4 separate regions of the Homo sapiens genome follow, and all the other regions are linked to region 3. The links are contacts of gene promoters, found by promoter capture Hi-C in blood cells and fetal thymus (Javierre and others, 2016). All regions are on one chromosome and are shown on one strand. Each heading gives the region's core, a stretch centred on a gene start or on the middle of the fragment in contact. The rest is flanking DNA. Distances are from core to core; before and after follow the strand shown.

Region 1 (5,433 bases), core at 333-2,832, 710 kb after region 3:
TTATATTAACTTTCTTACCACTGGAACTAAAAAACTTAAGAATAAAAAAAAAATCTTCCCACTCCTAACACTTAAGATATAGTATCCTTTTTGTTTTTATGCTGGGCTTTTGTGTGCTTTTAAGCTTTCTGCTAACTTATTAGTATTATGTATTTATTGACTTTGAAGTGGTTTTAGATATGCAACTGCACCTAAATCACCTTTTTACCACCAAGTAATCACTATTGCCCCTAAATATCTTATAGTCCACAAAGAAGTCAAATTTACCTCAAATTTAGAAAAGCAAACAAATGTTTCCTACATATAGCAAGGTGTTCAGAAATGAGCAAAAAATGTTGACAAAGAATGGTTTAAAAATGATTAGGAATTTGTATTACTAAACATCAATAAAAATAGTGACTCTTGGTAAGATACTAATGGTAAAAAAAAGTCTGCCACTTAAAGTCCTCACAAAACGGACTGATGCAGACCGTAGACATTAAAATTAACCCACCTCCCTGTACCTAATTAGGGGTCTTGTTTTGGGAAGCAAGGATCTAAAATCTTTTATGCCAATTATATTAGCTTTTTGAAGTTAAAGAATCCTATAAAATACCACTCTGATATTTAGTTAGCAAGAAGAACATCCAGCTTTGGGGTATCAACATGGATGGATGACTAAAAACAAGACTGGGGAATATGGAAACAGCCATCCATTCTTGATTAGAGTTCGCTTCCATTACCAAAACTATACATTTACTTTACTAATCAGGATAAGAAAAATTTGGCTTAGCGCCTCTATTTACTTTGCTTTTGTGAATGTGTACAATCCACGTGACTCTAAATCTCCTAAGATGGGCACTAATTATGCTTGATGAATATATTCTCATCTTAAATGCCAGCAAATGTACCCCAAGCAAATAAATGATGGGGACAACAAGGTTATCTAATATCTCTATTTCAGATAATTCTACCTAAAAATTAAAGCCAATTTTAAAGTATTAAAAAAAAAAGAAAAGAAAAGAGAAACCTAAATAAGCTTAAATAAACTGCTTCTTATAAATGTAATACAGACATGCCGGAACACACAAGGCTAAAAGAATGTTAACTTTATTTATGAACATGTGATTTGTGTTTATACACATGCTAATAAACAAAAAGGAAATAACTGTTTTCAAGAAATAAAACTTCATCTGAATTAGTTTAAATACTATATAAACTGTACTTTATACAAAATGTGTTACATTAACTACTACAGTCACCAGGATAGTCAATCTAATTTATGCTAGCATTTGGATACATAAAAATCAGTTTTAAACCAATCACCAGCAAAACATAAGCTTGGACAGTTTTTACAGCATTATGCTTAAAAAAAAAAAACAAAAAAACAAAAAAAAACACCCCATATCCAAAAAGAGGAAAAAAAAACCCCAAACACTAAGACTTTTGATCTTAGAATCACTGTATTTAGTTCCACAAGAACTAAAGGCCATATACTCTAAAGAACAAGTCCAATGTTCAGATATTCTATATTATCATGTTTAAGATCCAATGATCCAAGGTTAGTGAAATGCCTCATATACAAAGAGCAATAGTATTTAAAAAGTATATAATGTGAAATAGCAAGCAATACCCTTGAATTCTAAATGAAGATTTTAGACATCTTGCATTGTGTACAATATCAAGCCTGGGCATTAAAATGTTTAGAGAACCATTACATTTACAGAACCCAATTATGATAGACCTGTGTTATGAAACAGATGCTTCACCCCACAACTTAGGAATGCTGCTACTTTTTACTTAAGAGCTCAAAGTTAAAATGGTATCACAAATTAAGTTAATCTGTGATTACAAAAATTAAGCTTAACTTTCTTCAAACCAGTTATCCTGGTTAAGGGGAGTTACCTCTGATAAGGTACAGCTTTCAATGGCCTAAAATTAACGCAGCATTTTAGTATAAGAGGGAAATATTTTAATTTGGACATCTGCACTAACTAGATAGAAGTGGAAGATCTCATTAAACTTTGAAAACAATATAATCAGTTTATATAAACTCAAAATCACTAAGACACTTATATATTCATAGGGGGCCCCAGGTTCAGGTTTCACTTTATAGTACAGATGTAAACAAAAGAAGGAGCTCAAAATGCCAAATAAAGCAAGACTAAATAATAAAGCTGCATCAATGGTCTCTGGAAAGCTCTTTTCTATGATGTGTTTGAACTTGGAGAAAGCATCAAACTTTAATATAAGCTTTGCATGTTGCTAATGCGTTTTTGGAAGCCATAAATCAGGCAGGAAAAAAAAAACTAACAAAAACTAAGTGATACAACGTGAAAATGGCAAAATATACACTCCAAACATTTTTTATTGCAAGAAACAAAAAGCACACAACAGCCTGTACATACATACAAAATACTAACTATAGACAGACAAATGTAGAACATGTCATCATGTTCCTTAGTGTAAAACCTAAACGATCTAAAAAGGATCATACATTAACTGTACAACACAGTGTCATACAGGGATAATGCTATCATATTTAATATGAAACAGTGTTACGGGCACAAATTACCCATTTCTACAAAATAAGTGTGCAAGTGATGCCACATATTATCCATATTCAACTGAGCTGTCATCAAAATACATTTTATTTACAATATGTACTATGATCAGTTGGATATTAAGTTCTAAAATGATTTACTTCACTGCTACATTATAAAGGTAAAAGCAATGTGTAGAAAAAGTGTGAGATTGTGTTTTTACATACTGCTTTTGTAGTTGCCATCGCTGGTTCAGTTCGACTTCTAAAACACAAAATAAAAACAAAAATTAACATTAGCTATTTATGAATTTTTGTGCTAATAAATTTTAACACATTATCTTCAATAATACATTTTTAGGAACCTAATTTTCCTTTGGTATAAATATTTAACAGCCAATTTCTGAATGAATAAATTACTCTGATTAATCTTTACCACCTTTGAGCAGTTTTAAGATAGATTTGTGGTTTGGAAAAAAATTCCATACTAGGGAATTCAAAAATAGGTGTACCCTGCCACTTAAAACAAATGTTTTCTGAAAGGTAGTATAGGGATTTTATGTTTAGAAACGTAGTTTATTCTTAATAAACTGAAAATTTTAAATTATATAATTTCCCAGTTTCTGAATGCGTAAATTTTCACACATCAGGAAGACTGCTGTTGTTAACATTTGTAATTTGAATCCCTGAGAAATTGCTGTGCTCCCAAAACTAATTTTCAAATCTGGAGGGCCAGGCTGATAGCTATTTTCATTTTTCAAATGTCTCAAAACAACAATCAAGGATTGAACAAGAGGCCAAGGTGAGAGGATCACTTGAGCCCAGGAGTTTGAGACTAACCTGGGCTGTAACATAGTGACCCCATCTCTTAAAAACAGAAAAAAAAAAAAAACTGAACAAAAATTCTCACTCCCAGAAAAACACAATATAATCAGAGTATTTTAGTTAAAAGAACTGACTTAAATGGCTGTGTAGAACTGGACAATTTGATGTTTAAAAGACATAAACCCCAAAAGAAATTATTTTAATCCACACAGGAAAGGGGAAGAAGTTGAGTTGCTAGATTATAGCCTTTTAATGCTTAAAGTTTAAGGTATCTTGACTATAGAGAAATGTTAGCATCTAACAGGAGTTTCTAGGTGTGTGTATAATTTGGAATTTGAGATAAAAAAAAAACTGAGCTTTGATTTTCTAGTATTTGCTCAAAAAAAAACTGAGATGCATTTTATGAGGCAAATTTATTACAAACAGAACCCTATATATTGTACATTAACATATAATTCTGTGTAAGAGGCAACTTATTTTGCCATGTACTTCAAATAATTCTTAAGAGTTTCTATCAAAAAATCTACAGAAAATACATTTGCCATTTTTTAAAAAGCACTTGGTAAATTAAAGTAAAATTTCACACTGGATTGTAGGAATTAATTCTCCCCATAAATTTATAATTCTTAGGCTGGGTGCGGTGGCTCACGCCTGTAATCTCAGTACTTTGGGAGGCCAAGTTGGGTGGATCACCTGAGGTCAGGAGTTTGAAACCAGCCGGGCCAACATGGTGAAACCCAGTCTCTACTAAAAATCCAAAAATTGGCCAGGCTTGGTGGTGGGCACCCATAATCCTGGCTACTTGGGAGGCTGAGGCAGGAGAATCGCTTGAGCCCGGAGGCTACAGTGAGCCAAGATTGTGCCACTGCACTCCAGGCTGGGCAACAGAGTGAGACTCCATCTCAGGAAAAAACAAAACAAAACAAAACAATATATATATATACACACATATATATATAATTCTTAGAATCATTTAAAGTTAAGAACACACACCATTAAAAGTTCACTTGGCAATTACAACAAGGAAAGTATTCAGCTTTTTAAAGTAGCTATTATATGGAAGATACTGCACAAAAGGACCTCTAAGTGTTAAGATATGGAATATAACTTTACAACAAACTAATGAGAAAAATCTTAGAATACTTGCCCATATGAGGTAAAGCTCCAAGAAATGACTTTATTTTTACCTTAATTTCAAGAACACTTTCCATTCCCTAGCACTGGCAAATTCTAGAATTTTTCATTGACTCAAAATAATTTGTTCCAATTTCAAACAATACTACCTAATTCTAAGTGAAAATCACTACTCTTTAAATAACCTATGTTGCTGCCCTTTTCACATATTATAGTTCTGCTATCACTACTGAAATTGCAAGAAAGCAGAGAAAGTTAAGGATATAAGGTTTTAATCCTGCCCCAGGTTAGTGAATACCAGCTCCGGACTAGTTGTGAGACTGCTCTCTTCCTACTCCAATAATGTGCATTTAGCATGTGCCAGACACTATTTAATTCTTACAACCCTCTAGAGTTAAGTACTCACGTCCCTATTTTATTTTTGAGGAATCTGAGGCACAGAGACTTACCCAAGGTCCAAAGTCACACAACTGGTATGAAGCAGTAAATGGAGTCAAATCTAAGCCTGATTTCAGTGCCCATGATTATAAATCCTATATACTTTATGCCTCTCAGCCAAAGCCCCTTATTGATAAAGAGTAAATGTTAGCATTACTGAATACTCTTGATGCTGTCAAAATATTTAGGACCGATGTCTACAACACCAAATTTTTGTAGTGAAGAAAACTGAAGGAACCCCCACAAAAAAAAGTAGTCAAAGAAAGGCACAGAAATAATGTGAATATCACTTTCTTGTATCTGTAAATACTGGCCATATGGAGAAAAATTTTTCCTAATAATGGCCCTCTCACAACAGGCTAAGTCAATTTAACTGGGGGAGGAAATCAAAAACAAACGAACAAAGAAACCTACTATCCTCACAGTCTTGAGAAGATGTATTCATTAAGGTTAAAGTAATGAGTTCAGTTCTAAAATACAGTTTTTTCTCACAAAATTAAAAAAACTAAAAAAAG
Region 2 (5,394 bases), core at 1,149-3,648, 690 kb after region 3:
CAAAAGACTACATAAAACCAGCCTACTTCCCTAGATCAGCATTCATAATTAATATAAAAAGCACAAGCATGGATAAAACTGAAGAAAATCCTTCTCCCAACAAAGTTCCACACCCACCCCCTACACTCAGCTACCTGGTGTAATCCACCAGAGTTGAGCTGGATCCTTCAGTTCCAGTCACTTTTCGTCTGACCTTTCCTTTGACTTTTTCTTGTTTAACTTTGCTAGATGTTGACTCCAATTTTTCAGAGGGTTCTTTTGTGTTTGATATATTTTCTGTACTTCCAATTTTCTTCCCAGTTTCTCTGTTGAGTTTGATTTTTTTGGCTGGCGCACTTAAAGAAATTTTGTCCTTTTCAGGGGTCCTATCCATTTTTTCAGTATCAGGTTCCATTTTGCGCTTTGGTGATGGTTTCACTATTTCAGTCACTTCTAGTTTCGAGATTTTCATTGAAGAAGACTCAAAATCTTTATCTACGCCTTTTTCTTCAGTTTTTCTTTTTCTTTTTTCTCCCTTATTATCAAGTGGTTTGTTTTTCTCATTAGGCTTCTTGGCCTTTTCTTCCTTAGTTGTTAGCTTTTCTGATTTGACATCTTTGGAATAGTCCTTCTTCACTTTTTCCTCTTTGACTGGTTTTGTTTCTTGGTGTTCTTTTGCTGATTTAGAGTGAGCTTTTCTGGGGGTTCCAGTGATTTTTTCATCCTTCTGAGAGGAAGATGATGATTTAGTATTGTCAGTCTTCGGAGTCTCCTCTTTGGCTTTTTTAATTGGAGGTTCAGATCGAGGAGATCTCTCACGTTCTCCATCTACTTTTTCTTGGGGTCCTTTAGCAGGTTTTACAATATTTTCTTTTTTGGACACAGCAGATCCATCATTCTTCCGTTTGGTTTTATCACCCTTTGCTTTTGGTTTATCCCTTTCTCTCTTGTCTTTTTCAGACACTGATTTAAAAGTGATTGATTCTGCATCCATTGGTTCATCTCTAACAGGTGTGGCATCATCTCTACTTGGGAGAACAAACAATGAGTCTGTTTTATTTTCTTCAACACCTGTAGGTTCTCTTGATTTCCTAGAAGTCTCTAATAACTCTGGGTTCAGAAAACCCTCACTTTCCTCCCCTTTTCTTCTTTTTCTGTGTTTCTTATGCTTATTTCCTTTACCATCTCCTGGAGCGTTTTCACTCTCCTTCTCTTTTGACTTTGTATTATCCTTCTGATTGTGACCATCTCTTGCTGAAAGCTTTTCTGGATAGTTGCTACCTATGTTTCGACTTCTATGACTTTGCCCACCAACATAGTCTTCTCTGCGGCCTCTTGTGAAGGGAGAATTCCTGATGTTAAGTGGCAAAAATCTCTCTGGAGAAAAGTTCTCTCTATTTGCTGAGGGTCTAGGCTGTGCTCCAGCAGCATAACCTTTATAATATTTTTCATACCACTCTCTATATTTTCTCTCCCATTCTCGGTAGCGTTCTTTTTCAAATGGGTCTCTAAAGTCAACACTTCTCCCATAATATGCTTTCATGTCATATGGTGGTGGAACTTCTCTGTATCTATTAAAATATTCACGTTCTGTTTCCCCTTGAGGTACATTACGTTTATTAGGAGACTGTCCCCTAAACGCTTGAGGAGATCTTGATCGTGAATGATAGCGTCTGTAAGGGGGTGACCTTGACCTAGATCGATGATATCCATGAGATCTAGACCGTGAACGGTAATTGCGGCTCTTGCCTCTGCCTCTTCTGGGGTATGGAGGTGACCGTGAATAGGAACGAGAATGTGAGCGGCTGAATGATCGAGAATAAGAGCGTGAACGTGTTGAACCAGATCTTGATTTAGAATAAGTATATGAACTTCTTGAATACGAAGAACCACTATAGGGAGATTTAGACCTAAAAACAAAACAAAACAATAGTTGATAGTTGAGAAATACATACAAAATAAAACACAGACTCTCAGATTCTAGCATTCTTTCCTCACGGTTTCATCTATCTTTATATCAAATTTCATCTTAGATGATTAAAGAGGCACAGTGACCTCTACTGGAATGGAATAAAGTACACAAATCGGAGCAATCACTTGTTACAAAACAAAAGTGAAGTCTTAACAATTAGAGTGAAGTGCATTAATGTACCGTGAGTTATATGAGCTAACTAACATTAAACAAAATGTCAATTAATTTTAAATTTCACTTCCTATCTGAATATTGAAGTAGGAGTCTGTTTTTTGTCCTATACTGGCCAACAGCCTAGTTTTAAAAGAAACCACATTTCAAGTGTAAGGCTAAAAAATAAAGTCTTTTAAACAAACTTCCAGGGAATTTTTATAATTCACTTTTTCTATCAATAAAGCGATCTGTATTCTACTACTACTTCATAATTACGCAGGTTAATGTTCCAGCAAGAAGCTGTAGCCTTATGGTAAAAGGGTCCTGGGAACTGTTTTTTGGCTATTCCCCTATTTCTTTCCTTCCAAAAACATTTCCCAATTATTTGATACTATGAATAACTTTAAGGGACAAGGGCAATTTAATCCCCACAACTGTTAGTTCTACACAATAAAATTTACACTGAGACATTATTTCAATGAACAGATATTGGGAAATAAGCTACATCTTCACTTCTATACACCTAGACCGAATCAGAAAAATTCCTAAGTGCAATGTTCTTTATATCCATAGCTAATCCCTGGATATTCAAAGTCCCGTTTGTAATTCTGTTGTGAAGGCTTGCAAAACACTAACCTGGAAAATGAGCGCCTACGCTCCTTTTGAATCTTTTTGTATTCCATCAATTCCTTAGCAAAATCATTTGTAAACTCATCTAGCTTGGACTTTTTCTTTTCCCTAGTAAAATAAAGTTAAAGAGTGAAAGTTAACAAAAACCATTTAAGAAAACTAACAAGACAAATGTAATTAGATCATGAATGAAATGAATGAAATTGCCATTAGTTTTCCACTTTAAAACTATAAACTAGGAATCCCTGAGAAGTTGCTTGTATGGCTTTGGTTTAAATTTTAGGTGAATTTCTCATACTAACTGGAAACACTGGAAAACGTTTCCAGACACCTATTTAATGTTATTATCAGAAAATGAAAAAAGTGTATAATAATTTCAAATTAGAATACATACTCTTCTTTTAGTCGTCGCTGCTCTCTATAGAATTCTTCCCTGGACAAAGGTGGTGCTTGTGTTGTTGGGATGGTATTTGAATGAGCTGTCTGCACTCCTGATGATACCCAAGGTGTTGATAAATTGGCAGGAGCTGGAGGAAACCCTGGAGGAGGGACACTATACCCAGCGGGTGGTGGCTGGCCAGGAGGAAACTGAGGAGAAAACTGTGGAGGAGGAACACCCGGAGGGAGAGGAAGTGTATGGGGAGGAGGCGGATACAAAGGAGGTGGTGGAACAGGTACAAAGACTGGAGTTGCTGGTAGTGACGGGCCTTGAGTCCTCTGTGATCTTTCGCTGTGGTGTCGCCCACGGTTTATACTTCTGGAAAAATAAATTCCAAGATATTACTTCTTCAAACTAAAGTCATCTGAGACAAGTAAGCTTATCTCTTCTATCCATAATTATTTTCAAACTTAAAAACAGTGGAATAGAACCAACTATTCAACTAGTGTAGCAACATTAGTACAATTTATTTGTAAAAATAACTCTACAACATAATTTTTAAGGCCATGTCTCGACTGAGATGATGCAAGTTTATAGGACCTTCTCTACACGGAAATATTGTATTTAAAAGTTCTCTTTTATGAAGTTCAGACTGATTATCACTCCACTAATTACTACCTGTTACTTCCTAAACTGTCTTTTGAAGGCACTGACAGGTTAATGCTGCTATGACCTAGCTCTCCCCAAAAGCTTACTTATTCATTTATTTTTTATTTTTTGAGACAGAGTCTCACTCTGTCGTCCAGGCTGGACTACAGTGGTGTAATCTTGGCTCACTGCAACCTCCACCTCCTGGGTTCAAGCGAATTCTCCTGCCTCAGCTTCCCAAGTAGCTGGGACTAGAGACGTGTGCCACCATGCCCAGCTAATTTTTGTATTTTTAGGAGAGACAGGGTTTCACCATGTTGGGCAGGCTGTTCTCAAACTCCTGACCTCAGGTGATCTGCACAAAGTGCTGGGGTTACAGGTGAGAGCCACCACACCTGGCCCCAAAAGTTTAAATGAAGGAAAACCAACTCCTGTAACCTCTTTTTTGAGGGAGGAAGTGGGTAAAGATCATACAAAGCAGAATAAATTCTAGTTTTAACTTCTATAATTAACAATGAAAATATCAACGCTTTCTCTCAAAAGCTTAAGTAAAAATAACAGTGTTGGCTAAGTTTCTAATTTGTGCCTCACCAAACAGAACTGGTTACTTCTGTTAAACTAGAGGTGCTTTAAATTATAAATAATTGGTACACAACAGCAACAGTAGGGGTTTAGATTTTAAGCATCTTTTCAGTGAGCCATGAATAACTATTACCTTCTTTTAAAATGTGATCCAGTAATGACATAGTAAACTTTCATAAGTTTAGCAATGAAGCACTAGAAGATATCCCGAATTTCCTTCTTTTTGGAGACAGGGTCTCACTCTGTCCCCTAGGCTAAAGTGCAGTGATGTGGTTATAGCTCACTGCAGCCTTGACTTCCTAAGCTCAAGTGATCCTCCTGCCTCAGCCTCCCAGGTAGCTGGGACCACAGGTGCATGCCACCATGTCTGGTTATTTTATTTTTTTGGTAGAGACAGAGTCTTGCTATGTTGCCCAGGCTAATCTTGAACTTCAGGCCTCAAGCAATCCTCCCCCATCAGCCTCCCAAAGCTCTAAAATTACCAGCATGAGCCATTATGCCTGGCCAAAACTCTTGTTATGAAGTTTTGGAGGCTCCTTTATCCTGGTGGTGATTATGACCTAGACTAGCAGTTCTCAACCGTTTTGGCACCAGGGAGCTGTTTTGTGGAAGACAATTTTTCCATGGACGGGGGCAGGGGGGTAAAAACTGTTCCACCTTAGATGATCAGGCATTAGATTCTCCTAAGAAGCGTGCAACCCAGATCCTTTGCACACGCAGTTCACAACAGGGTTCATGCTCCTATGAGAATCTTAATGCCACTGCTGATCTGACAAGAGGTGGAGCTCAGGTGGTAATGCTCGCTCAGCTGCTGTTCACCTCCTGCTGTGTTGCCCAGTTCCTAACAGGCCAAGGATGGATACTGGTCTGTGGCCCAGGGTTGGGGACCCCTGACCTAGACAGTAAGATTCTTACTTCTTAGATTAATATTGCTTGTACCCGCCCACTAGGGCAGGAGCCTCTAACAATCTCCTGTCTCTTCTTTTGGAAAAGAGACGGTGGGAGATGATTGGGACAGTGGGGTCTAGAAGAGAAATAGTTGCAATTCTTG
Region 3 (5,333 bases), core at 1,778-4,277:
GGCCGAGGCAGGTGGATCACTTGAGGTCAGGAGTTCGAGACCATCCTGGCCAACATAGTCAAACATCATCTCTACTAAAAATACAAAAATTAGCCAGGTGCGGTGGCACACGCCTGTAGTCCCAGCTACTCAGGAGGCAGAGGCTACAGCGAACCAACATCACTGCACTCCAGCCTGGGAGACAGACCAAGACTGTCTCAAAAAACAAAACAAAGAAACATTCTTGTGAATCATGCGCAGTCTCAGATGGGCAGTTAGTCATTACTTTCTTGGTCAATGCCTTGTGACTAGACTGTGCAGGGGCCATCAGCCTGTTCCCAAAGCTGCGGGTCTGTGTGTTTTATCTGTTGAAGAAGGTCCTGTTTTTTTCTGTGGCTGTTTTTAGTGAATAGTTTACAAACTCAGGCAAAACAATAATTATACTCAAGCAAGCAAGCTTTTCTCTAACATAGAGTCAGTACTGCTGTTACCCGTTGCAGGGCCTAGGGGACTTAGCTGGACGCCTACCTGGCTTTTGTTACCCAATGCAATGCCTCCATGACATAGCTAAATTCCTACTCAGATTTAACTCTGCTTATTTTTAGAAAACAGGTTGTCTGTGGTCATAGGTTCCTTCTTAGCTTACTCGACCTCTGAAGAACCTCTAGCTTCATTCTAATCCAACTTCAGTACTAAATGACATTCCCACTGGTTGCCATGACAGTTGACAATCACCGTGATGACCCGAAGAGACCAAAAAAAGGACAAAAAAAGGGGCAGCTCCTTGATTCCAGGAAAATCTACCTCCCTTCCCAAGAAAAAACATGAATATTCCTCCTCTTGTTCTTAATTTTTATTTTTTTTAGAGACAGGGTCTTACCATGTTGCCCAAGCTGGTCTCCAATTCCTGGGCTCAAGCTTTCCTTCTGCCTCCTCGCCTTGCTCTTAATGCCCAGCCCCTTCATTAAGGACACCTGACGACTAAGCTCTGATTCTTTTGTTTTTTTTTTCTGTTTTGTTTTGTTTTTGACACAGAGTCTCACTTTGTCAACCAAGCTGGAGTGCAGTGGCACAATCTCAGCTCATTGCAACCTCCGCCTCCCGGGTTCAAGTTGAGTCTCATGCCTCAGCCTCCCAATCAGCTAGAATCACAGGCGTGTGCCACCATGCCCAGCTAATTTTTGTATTTTTAGTAGAGACGGGGTTTCGCCATGTTGGCCAGGCTGGTCTTAAACTTCTGACCTCAAGCGATCCACCTGCCTTGGCCTCCCAAAATGCTGGGATTATAGGCGTGAGCCACCACGACCAGCCTAAACTCTTGATTTTTTTAATCCTGCCCAAATTCCTATCTAAGGGATCTGGGGAGTCATGACCTACAAACCATAAATTCTCATCAGATGGGTTTTATTTAATCCTATATATGATGACTTACTTTCCATTCTGACTCTGGCATAACATTACGTGACAAAAAGAAAGTCAAAATATTTTACCCCAAAACATGTTTCCTTGCCCTATTTTGCAATTTCTTCCATAAAGGACAGCATTTTCCCCCAAAAGCTATCCTTTGTGGGGTAAAATGTGCATCTGTAAAGAACATCTATTAACATAGCTAGATGTTTTTCTTCCAGGCCCTCCCAATCCTAAACGGATTAACTAAAAGTCTAACACCTTTTGAAGATCTGAATAGGAAACATTTGTCATCTATTATCTCTAAGAGCAGCCACCATAAGACTTCAAAAGAACCTTAGTCTCCACTATCTTTTATCTTAACCTGAACACTTCCTTTCTATCAATCCCAGGTCTTCAGACAAACTCAACCAATTGTCAACTAGAAAATATTTAAATTTACCTATAGCCTGGAAGCCCCCACCCCCACCCCTTTGCGTTGTCCCGCCTTCCTGGACCAAACCAATGTATTTAATGTATTTGACTGATGTCTCATGCCAACCTAAAACATAAAACCAAGCTGCACCCCGACCACCTTGGGCACATGTTCTCAGGGCCTCGAGAGGGCTGTATCACAGGCTGTGGTTACTCGTATTTGGCTCACAATAAATCTCTTCAAATATTTTGCACGGTTTTACTTTTCGTCAACACTCCCTATTACCTGTAACTTCTCAGTTTCCAAGAGCTGAGAGCTTGATTTGCGAGCTACCCTCCCACTTCTCCAATTCCATGGCCACTGAATGAAGGCTGCACTGCCTGATACTCACACTTGGTCTCATGCGCTGGCTCTGCAACAACGGACAGACAAGAGTTCCTTTGGGGGAAACCAGCTTCCCAGGTGACACTGTTGCCTCTGCTACATGCGCAAAGCGCAGCCTGGCACATAGTAGGTGCTCAAGAGAGGGAAAGCCGGGTCTATGAATTCAGGGACAGGGGCAGCACCAGAAGAGAGCAAGCTGGGGCCTGGCTGGCTGAACCCTGGCCCCGAGACCCCTGTGACCCCCCTTCTCATCAGGATGCACCACATGAACCTCCCCAACGCGAGGGCCAACAAGTGGCCCCAGATGAGACCGCGCCGGGAAGGGCCTGGGGCCACGCACAGATACTTCCGCCAGAAAAACACCACGCCGCGCCGTGCACCTCCGCCAGAGGAAGAAGGTCCCGCAGGGTCGGGGTAACCGCTCCATCCCCGACCGCAACCCTGGACCAGGTACAAGGAACAGATCCCTCCACCGGAACGCCGTGTCCCTCCGCCAGACACAGGAGTCCCCGCTCCCGTGCTCTCCTTCCCCGGCAGCCAGGCCCCGGTGCCGACTCCTCCGCCTCAGGGAGGCCCCGCCGCCGCCTAGATTCTCCGCCTGAAGCGGGACTCGCGACGGCAGGTTCCCTAGAATCCCTCTGTGTCCCTCCGCCCCGGGGAGGACCCTCCGCGCCCCTCTACAATCTTAAAGTCCCTCAGCGACGAGTCACCGCGCCGCGCGCTCTCGCGAGAGTCCACCGCACGGCCCCCCCCCCCTCCCCCAGCCCCTCGCCCGCCAGGACGCCTCGCGCGGGCCCCGCGGCGCTCGGTGGCAGGCGGCGCATGCGTGACTGCGGTTCCCAGCGCCCCCCGCGCTCTCCGCGGGCCGAGTGGACGAGGCCGAACGCGAGCAGCCTGCCGCTGCCCCCTGCGAGCCCTGGCTTCGCCCCGCAGCTCTTCTCCCTTCCGGGCGGAACAGTTTTTGCGGCCTTTCCTCGGCGGCAGCGGTTTCCTCAGGACGGTCGGGGCCGTCGTGGGCCCGAAAGAGCCCGGCGCCGCTCTCGGAATCCGGCGGCCCCAGCGGCACCCGCGGCGGCCTGGACGTGCTGCGGTGACCCGAGCCCGGAACCTGGCGCCGGGCGGGGCCTGCACATCCGGCCCCACCCACTCGGGGACTCGCCTCTCCGCGCCCGACCCGGGAGTAGCGGACACACCCCCTCCCGGCCCGGCTGTCCGCCTCCGCCCAGCCTTTCCTCAGCCTGCTTCATTTTTCTCCCAGTCGTCCAGCCTCCCGGTTTCCGACTTTGCACTAAGAGGGATGCACTCTGGAAAACCACATTGCGCGGTCACATCTTGTTTGGAGAAGAGGCCAGGCTTTTGCATCTTAGAGTATACGTTCACCTTTTCAAGGGCCTGGCATAGATTTGATTAATCAGCCTGGAATACCCTGTTCCTGCCGACCTGGCCGTTTTTACCTCCGTACCTTATCACACTCCCAGGAACATTAAGCAGGGAGCGCTTGGAGTCTTCTTTGGGTCCCCACCTTGAGCTAGACGTGAAGTTGACCCCTGGGCTGCAGCATGGCTGTCGCCCTCGACTCTCAGATCGACGCGCCCCTGGAGGTTGAGGGATGCCTAATAATGAAGGTGGAAAAGGACCCTGAGTGGGCATCAGAGCCCATTCTGGAAGGATCGGATAGCTCTGAGACCTTCCGCAAATGCTTCAGGCAATTCTGTTATGAGGATGTGACTGGACCCCATGAAGCTTTCAGTAAACTCTGGGAACTTTGCTGCCGGTGGCTGAAGCCAGAAATGCGTTCCAAGGAGCAAATACTTGAGCTGCTGGTGATTGAGCAGTTTCTCACCATTTTACCCGAGAAGATTCAGGCTTGGGCACAGAAGCAGTGTCCGCAAAGTGGAGAGGAAGCGGTGGCCCTGGTAGTGCATTTGGAGAAAGAGACTGGAAGACTAAGACAGCAGGTGAGAGAGGATTTTCCAAATTTTTGTACTTAGAAAAAAGGGAATGGGAAAGGCATGTGGGCAGGGATGTATTGCAGAAAGACGTGCTCTTCAGAGAAAGATAAATGGTACTAATAAAAGACCCTATAAGGGGGTCTTTTCACTTTAAGTGAATCCACTTAAAAGGGGATCAGAATTTCACATGAAATAGAAAAATAAAAGCTTTGATTGAAATATTATCTTACAATGGAAACCAGACATTATTCACCTAAGCATTTATCGTCATCTTTGGCATAATGTTTGCAACAAAACAATATAAGAGAACAATATGGTTTTGCGTCACAGAGGTTCACTTACGCATTTTGATCAAAAAAGGCTATTCTGTTCCCCCTTTAAAAAAAAAAAAAAAAGACTTCATCCGTTATCCCAGAGCCGTCTCCAAGCGTTTTACTGTTGCACTCAGTGTCTTCTGAAGTGCTCTCATGCCTTCATTTCTGTCACTCTCCTCCAGTCTAACTGCCACATCTTCATTTCTCAGTGGCTTGCATGCTCTTCTAGTTGTTCTTCAACCTCACTTTCATGAACCTCGTGAAATCCTGCAGCATTTGCAAGATTTGCGGTTTCACCTTGCATCAGACTTGCATTGTGTAGAGATCTATCAGCAGGTTGCTGTATTGGTCAGGGATAGACAGATAGATGTGGATATTAATTTTGTAAGTTTTCATTTCACTACTGTATATATTCATGTCCTGGTAACTTCTTTGCGAACGTAACAGATATAGAGTCAAATAATATCTATTCTAGCAACAAGGAGGCTCTTTCACTCCTGACAGATTTCCTTCTCTGTTTAGTATTAAATATTATTCTGGCCAGGCGCGGTGGCTCACATCTGTAATCCCAGCACTTTGGGAGGCCGAGGCATGTTGATCACCTGAGGTCAGGAATTCGAGACCAGCCTGACCAACATAATGAAACCCCATCTCTACTAAAAAAATATAAAATTAGCCGGTTGTGTTGGTGCATGCCTGTAATCCCAGCTACTTGGGAGGCTGAGAGAGGAGAATCGCTTGAACCTGGGAGGTGGAGGTTGCAGTGAGCCAAGATCGTGCCATTGCACTCCAGCCTGGGCAACAAAAGTGAAACTCTGTCTCAGAAAAAAGAACACTGTTCTGTTACCTTACACCCAGACTGCTGGACAGTACTCTCAGCCC
Region 4 (5,570 bases), core at 1,062-3,561, 530 kb after region 3:
AACACGGACAGCACTTTACTCCTTTTATGTAACCCAAAGGGCCTAACAGACCTCAGCAACTGGCTGGCCCACGCCGCTCGTTTTATAGATTGGACAGAGAGGCTAAGTGACTTGCCAAGAGTCAAGGTCATATTGCAAGTAGCAGAGCTGGAATTCAAACTCTGATAAATAGCCAACCCAGACTCGAGTTCTACCTAATATTAAAATTATACCTGTGGCACAGACAATTTTTAATTAAGTACTAGAGCACCTTCATAGGAATTATACTGATATAGTTACCTGATAAAACAAAAATGGAAGGAGAAACAGACCTCTAAGCTCTGTTCTGCTGATATTACACCTTAATGGCTCAACCTGTTTTCTTTAATGGTTTCATATCTTAACATTTCCTTACTAGATTTTGACAAAATTTATGTAAATATACCACAAATAGTCAGTGATGTCAGACTTAATTTCCTTTAAATGATCCCATAATTATTTTGAGTAACAGAGAATCCCTTACTGGGTAAACCAATGATGCCTATCCTTCACCATCTGAACACATTCTTTAACGATCACCTGAACAGATTAGTATCTTATGAAACTCAATAGGCCAGCAATTTGGAACAATTCTACGCGGTGCAAAATATTCAGACGATTTGAAATGTGAGTGTTAAAAACCCCAATGTAAACCTAAAACCCGCAATCATCAAGAGCAAACTACATTAAAACCTGAGATAGGAGAAATTTCATTTTATTTTCAACAAGTGAAAAAAAAGAAAAAAAGAAAGCTATTCACGGATTTGGTTAATTGGCTAAGTTTCCCTGAGTGTCCCAATATGATGCAAAAGAAAAAGGGGAATAAGAAAGGAAAAGACGGTAGGAAAGAAAATGAATGTGAAAAGGAGTTAAATACAGTACAATTCCTTGATGCTTAAGCAATTACAGCTCAATGAAGCTAAATATTTCCATTCCATAAAGACATCGTTTAAAAAAAAAAAAAAATTCTCCCTTCACGGTGATGCAAAAGCAGCAGGGCCCAACAGGAACGATAACCTCTTCTGGAGAAAAGATTTTTAATTATTTTACCAGCTGATAAAAAGAGCACACACCGAACATGGACAGAAATGGAGTTTCGAAGGAAAACAAAACGCAGCTTATGCTTGGTAAAGTTCAAGGACAAAACTGTGTCCAATGCAACAGAATCCGCCTGACTACAATGTATGGGGGGGGGGGGGGGGCGGGGGGGAATGCGAACACATAGTATCTTTTTATAAAAGCAACAATTTGAGCTACAAAGTAATAACGGGGAAGCCAAAACAGTTTGACAGCCCGCCATAAGGGCCGCCTCAATCATGAGTCACACAATGCCTGCAACCATTTACAATAGTAATTAATGCACAAGTCCCCTAATTAAATTCTAAAAGGGTGAGAATGCTTTAACTAAGTTTACAAGAATTGCTTTGCGCTTTTTTTTTTTTTTTTTAAAGAAAGAAACACACGCGTAATTACGCATCTCCCCGCAATCCCTCCAGTATTCCCCCAGGCCGCTTCTCCCGAATGTCTGCTCTCCGGGTGCGGAAGAAAATGTCACGGGGGAACTTCTCAACCCAGAAAAGGCGAATCGGAGTAGAAATATACGATTATCGTGGGGCGGGAGACGGAAAGCTCGCCCATCTTACCTGCTAAGATTTCTTTCTACGTCTTTGGTAGCTTTAGCTTCCAATTCTCTGAAACAAAAAAACAAAAACAAAAACAAAACAAAAACACACACACAAAAACGAGATGCGCGTGAAAACGGAGCTGCTGCGGCAGAGGCTCGCGCCGGGGCCGGATGGGGGAGGGGAGAGGACGGGGGGAGGGGGACTCACAAAGCTGCGGGGCTGCAGCCCGGACTGCGGTCCCGCGGCGCGGGCGAGGCGCAACCCCGGCCTGGCCCCCGCGGCGCGGCGCAGCGAGGCTCCCCCGGGCCGCCCGCTCGGCCTCCGCAGCAACGCAGCCTGCGCCCTCCCGCCGAGGCCCGAAGTCTCGGGGACGCCCGGCGCCGCCGCCTCTGCTGCCGCCGCCGCGGGTTGCGGGCCCTGCGGCAGCGCCCGCGGCTCCTCCCGCCCGGAGGGAGGCCCTTGTTCCGCTCACCTCATGTGTGTAAAGTGCACGAGCAAGTGGGGCGCGGCGAAGGAGGCTCGCGAGCCTCAAGCCCTCCGCAGCGCCGCGGGGAGAGGCCCGAGCCGCTGCACCAGCGCCATTTTCTACACCGACCCGCTGCCGCCGCCGCCGCCGCCGCCGCCGCCGCCGCCGACACCGCCGCCGCCGCAGGCCCCAGACCGGAAGTGAATGCCCCACTCGGCAACCCCTTCCGGGGGCGCCACGGCCACTGGCCCCCAAGATGGAGGCCCTAGCAACTGGACCCGCAGATTGGGCAGGTCCTTGGCAACCGCCCCGGCGTGTCACGCTGCACCCAGCCGGACCTCCCTGGAGGTCACAGCCTCCGAGGCGCCCCGCGGAGTGGCTGGGGGGGCCTGCGGAGTCCCGAGTCCAACCTTTTTCGGTGCGGCCGGCTCCGGTCTGACCGAGGAGGGGAGTCCCTCCCCTCCTCCTCCTTCTTTGCTGCGACACAAGTTTCCTACCCGCCGCCCGGCCCCTCCCCCACTGACACACGCCAAAAAAAAAAAAAAAAAAAATTGCCTAAAACGCAAATTTTACCCCAACTGCAGCCTGATGAGCCCGCGCGGCTTTTGAATTCAGCCACTTCTAATTATTTTTGACCTTGGGCCAGTTATTTAACCTCTCTGCTTCTCTGTTCCTCCTCAGGTAAAGAATGCATACCTGAGGCGGGTTGTGAGGCTTAAAAGCGATTTTTATCCACCGACCTTTGACTCAGCAGTTCCGCCTGCACGGATTTTCTGCTCAGGAAATAATTCTGGGTATCTGCAAATATTTCACCTTCGAGATACTAAGCTGTGGTATTGATGATGGTGAAAAATTGCAAACAGCCAAAATGTCCAGCGCTACTAGATGGCTTCAAAAACAGCTACTGGCATGTATTAGGACACTGTAAAAATGATGTGGAGGAATAATCCCGGCATGGAGGAAATGGTTGCAATAGAATAAATGAAAAAGCAGGTTCCAACGTAGCTCACACAGTAAGAAACATCTTAGTGTAGACACAGTAAGATACATACATGTAGATAGACTAAGATATGTATATATGTAGACACAGATGCATATGTGTACATTAAAAGTATACATACATACCTACATGTAGATACAATAAGACATACATATCTGCAGGTAGATACAACAATACACATACATGTAGATACAGTAAGATACATATTTTCACTTGCGTGTGTTCTTTCCAACCTCTCATCAAGCTTTTTCTTCTAATTTAAAGATAATTCCTCCTCTGTGCTTAAAATCTATAACCTTTACTTTCTCAGAAACCCCACTCTGTGGATCATCCCATTCTCCTTTTTCTAACCTAAGTTCTTCAACTGGCTTTTTTTTTTATTTTTTTATTATATTATCATTTTTTTTAGGCGGAGTCTCGCTCTGTCTCCCAGGCTGGAGTGCAGTGGCGCGATCTCCGTTCACCGCAACCTCCGCCTCCCGAGTTCAAGCAATTCTCCTGCCTTAGCCTCCCAAGTAGCTGGGATTACAGACACGCACCACTGCGCCTAGCTATTTTTGTATTTTTAGTAATGACGGGGTTTCGTCATGTTGGCCAGGCTGGTCTTGAACTCCTGACCTCAGGTGATCGCCCCCCTCGGCCTCCCAAGGTGTTGGGATTACAGGCGTGAGCCACCGCGCCCAGCTTCAACTGGCTTTACAACATGCTTGAATCTCTCCCGTTAAAAACAAACAAAACTTCCCTAGACATGTTGGGTTCCTGTCCTCTCCGATAGGTTAAGCTAGTGAATGAATGCACAGAAAGTCATGAAACATATGCACCAAAACGTTAACTGATTATGACTTTTTTTCATTTTCTTCTTTTAGTGTATCTGTTTTTTTCTTTTTTGCGATGAGCATATAAAAAACACTTTTTTGAAAAAAAAAATCAGGTTTACAAAATATAAAATGTAGTGGGCACCGAATAAATGCTAGTGACTTTCCTTTTCCTGCTATCATCCCTGAGGTTCATTTACCTACACACATATTTGTTTTTCTTTCATAATCCTTTCTACTTAAAATGTTTAAAAGTTACTATGGTGTTTCATTAGGAGTTTAAAAATATGAACATATACGTAATGGCACAATATGCTTTCATACCAGGTTTAGGAATAATTTTTCACAACAACATAAGGCAATGAAAACAGTCATATTTATCAACATTTGCACAGCTGTTAAGATTGGCTGATTTTTTTTTTATTAGACTTTTTTAGGTTTTAATGACTCAGTGATTCTTAATTGGGACAATGTTGCCCCCATCCCTACCCCTGGGGACATTTAGCAATGAACTTTTTGGTTGTCACACTGGATGCTACTGATTGGTATCTGATAGCTACAGACCAGGGATTCTACTAAATATTCTACGATGCGTAGGACAGTCCCCTACAACACGGGAGTATCTGAACCAAAATGCCAATAGCACCAAGGTTGAGAAAGCCTGGAACTAATTCCCAGCTCCAGCAAAGCTAATAAGATATGATTTCTTGGCCAGGCGCGGTGGCTCATGCCTGTAATCCCAGCACTTTGGGAGGCCGAAGTGGGCAGATCATCTGAGGTCAGGAGTTTGAGACCAGCCTGGCCAGCATGAGGAAACCCGGCCTGTAGTAAAAATAAAAAATTAGCCAGGCATAGTGGTGCATGCCTGTAATCCCAGCTAATTGGGAGGCTGAGGCAGGAGAATCGCTTGAACCCAGGAGGCAGAGGTTGCAGTGAGCTGAGATCACACCATTGCACTCCAGCCTGGGCAACAACAGTGAAACTCCACCTTAGGGAAAAAAAAAAAAAAAAAGATGTGATTTCCAGAAGGTTTGTTGACAGTGATTGGACATCCCATCTGAGCCCTCCTGGGCTGCAATGTAGAGTGTTTTATATGAGGTCATGCTAGTCACTTTTAAATTATCTCTTACTTAAACTTGGTGCATACATCGAAGAAAAATGACAATATAAGATCAGCACTGATTCCTTATGTGGGACCCTCTAAGGGATCTTTTCCTGTTACTATCTTTTCTTTTTACTAAGTAATCATTCTCTCTACTGAATATTTCCCATCACCACACAAACTCTAGTAACTTTCATTAAAAAGCAAAAAGCCCAAAACTCCCTTGATGCGTCATTCCTCTCCAGCTCCATTTTTCTGCTCTCGTTCCCAACAATGCTTTCTTGGGAAACTGTTCAACACAAGCACCTTCCACTGGCTCTCCTCCTTCTCCCAGCTCTCTTTAACCTGATATCCCCATCCCTCCTGCAAAACTGCTCTTATGAAGGTCGCAAATGACTTTGAGGGTGCCAAACTCAATGGAAACATGTCTGTCCTCATCTTGATTTACTTCTTAGCTACATTTGCCACAACCTAACTCTCCCTCCTTCTTAAGAGAATCTCTTTGCTAGGCCATCCTGACAGTATATTCTTCTGGAGTTCTTTT

Evidence for each region. Contacts are between HindIII fragments. The CHiCAGO score rates a contact against its expected background, and 5 or more counts as called.
Region 1: a contact is called between a fragment that was not itself captured here and the fragment with the promoter of ZKSCAN2 in region 3, in 4 of 17 cell types (fetal thymus, naive B cells, activated CD4 T cells and 1 more). The highest score is 6.4, in fetal thymus.
Region 2: a contact is called between a fragment that was not itself captured here and the fragment with the promoter of ZKSCAN2 in region 3, in 1 of 17 cell types (activated CD4 T cells). The highest score is 5.1, in activated CD4 T cells.
Region 4: the fragment with the promoter of TNRC6A here is called in contact with the fragment with the promoter of ZKSCAN2 in region 3 in 2 of 17 cell types (fetal thymus and total B cells); the score reaches 5.8 in fetal thymus.

What each region holds. Positions count from the first base shown.
Region 1 is chr16:24,546,298-24,551,730 of GRCh38, reverse strand. It overlaps RBBP6 (RB binding protein 6, ubiquitin ligase), which reads right to left. Exons shown (of 18, transcript NM_006910.5): 3 at 2,750-2,786. Among named protein-coding and RNA genes, the nearest start is that of RBBP6, 9.4 kb to the right of the region's middle. The HindIII fragment of the contact is 522 bases long and covers 1,322-1,843 here.
Region 2 is chr16:24,565,240-24,570,633 of GRCh38, reverse strand. RBBP6 (RB binding protein 6, ubiquitin ligase) reads right to left here. Exons shown (of 18, transcript NM_006910.5): 15 at 3,129-3,491; 16 at 2,741-2,842; 17 at 135-1,889. Among named protein-coding and RNA genes, the nearest start is that of RBBP6, 28 kb to the right of the region's middle. The HindIII fragment of the contact is 2,311 bases long and covers 1,243-3,553 here.
Region 3 is chr16:25,255,539-25,260,871 of GRCh38, reverse strand. It overlaps ZKSCAN2 (zinc finger with KRAB and SCAN domains 2), which reads left to right and starts at 3,027. Exons shown (of 7, transcript NM_001012981.5): 1 at 3,027-4,143. The coding sequence starts at 3,745. ZKSCAN2-DT (ZKSCAN2 divergent transcript) reads right to left here and starts at 3,295. Exons shown (of 1, transcript NR_170220.1): 1 at 1-3,295. RefSeq lists enhancers at 2,166-2,245, 2,366-2,685, 3,101-3,661 and silencers at 2,896-3,095, 3,176-3,415. The HindIII fragment of the contact is 3,031 bases long and covers 900-3,930 here.
Region 4 is chr16:24,726,392-24,731,961 of GRCh38, reverse strand. TNRC6A (trinucleotide repeat containing adaptor 6A) reads right to left here and starts at 2,311. Exons shown (of 25, transcript NM_014494.4): 1 at 2,116-2,311; 2 at 1,662-1,709. The coding sequence starts at 2,120. RefSeq lists a silencer at 1,973-2,282. The HindIII fragment of the contact is 6,808 bases long and covers 1-3,355 here.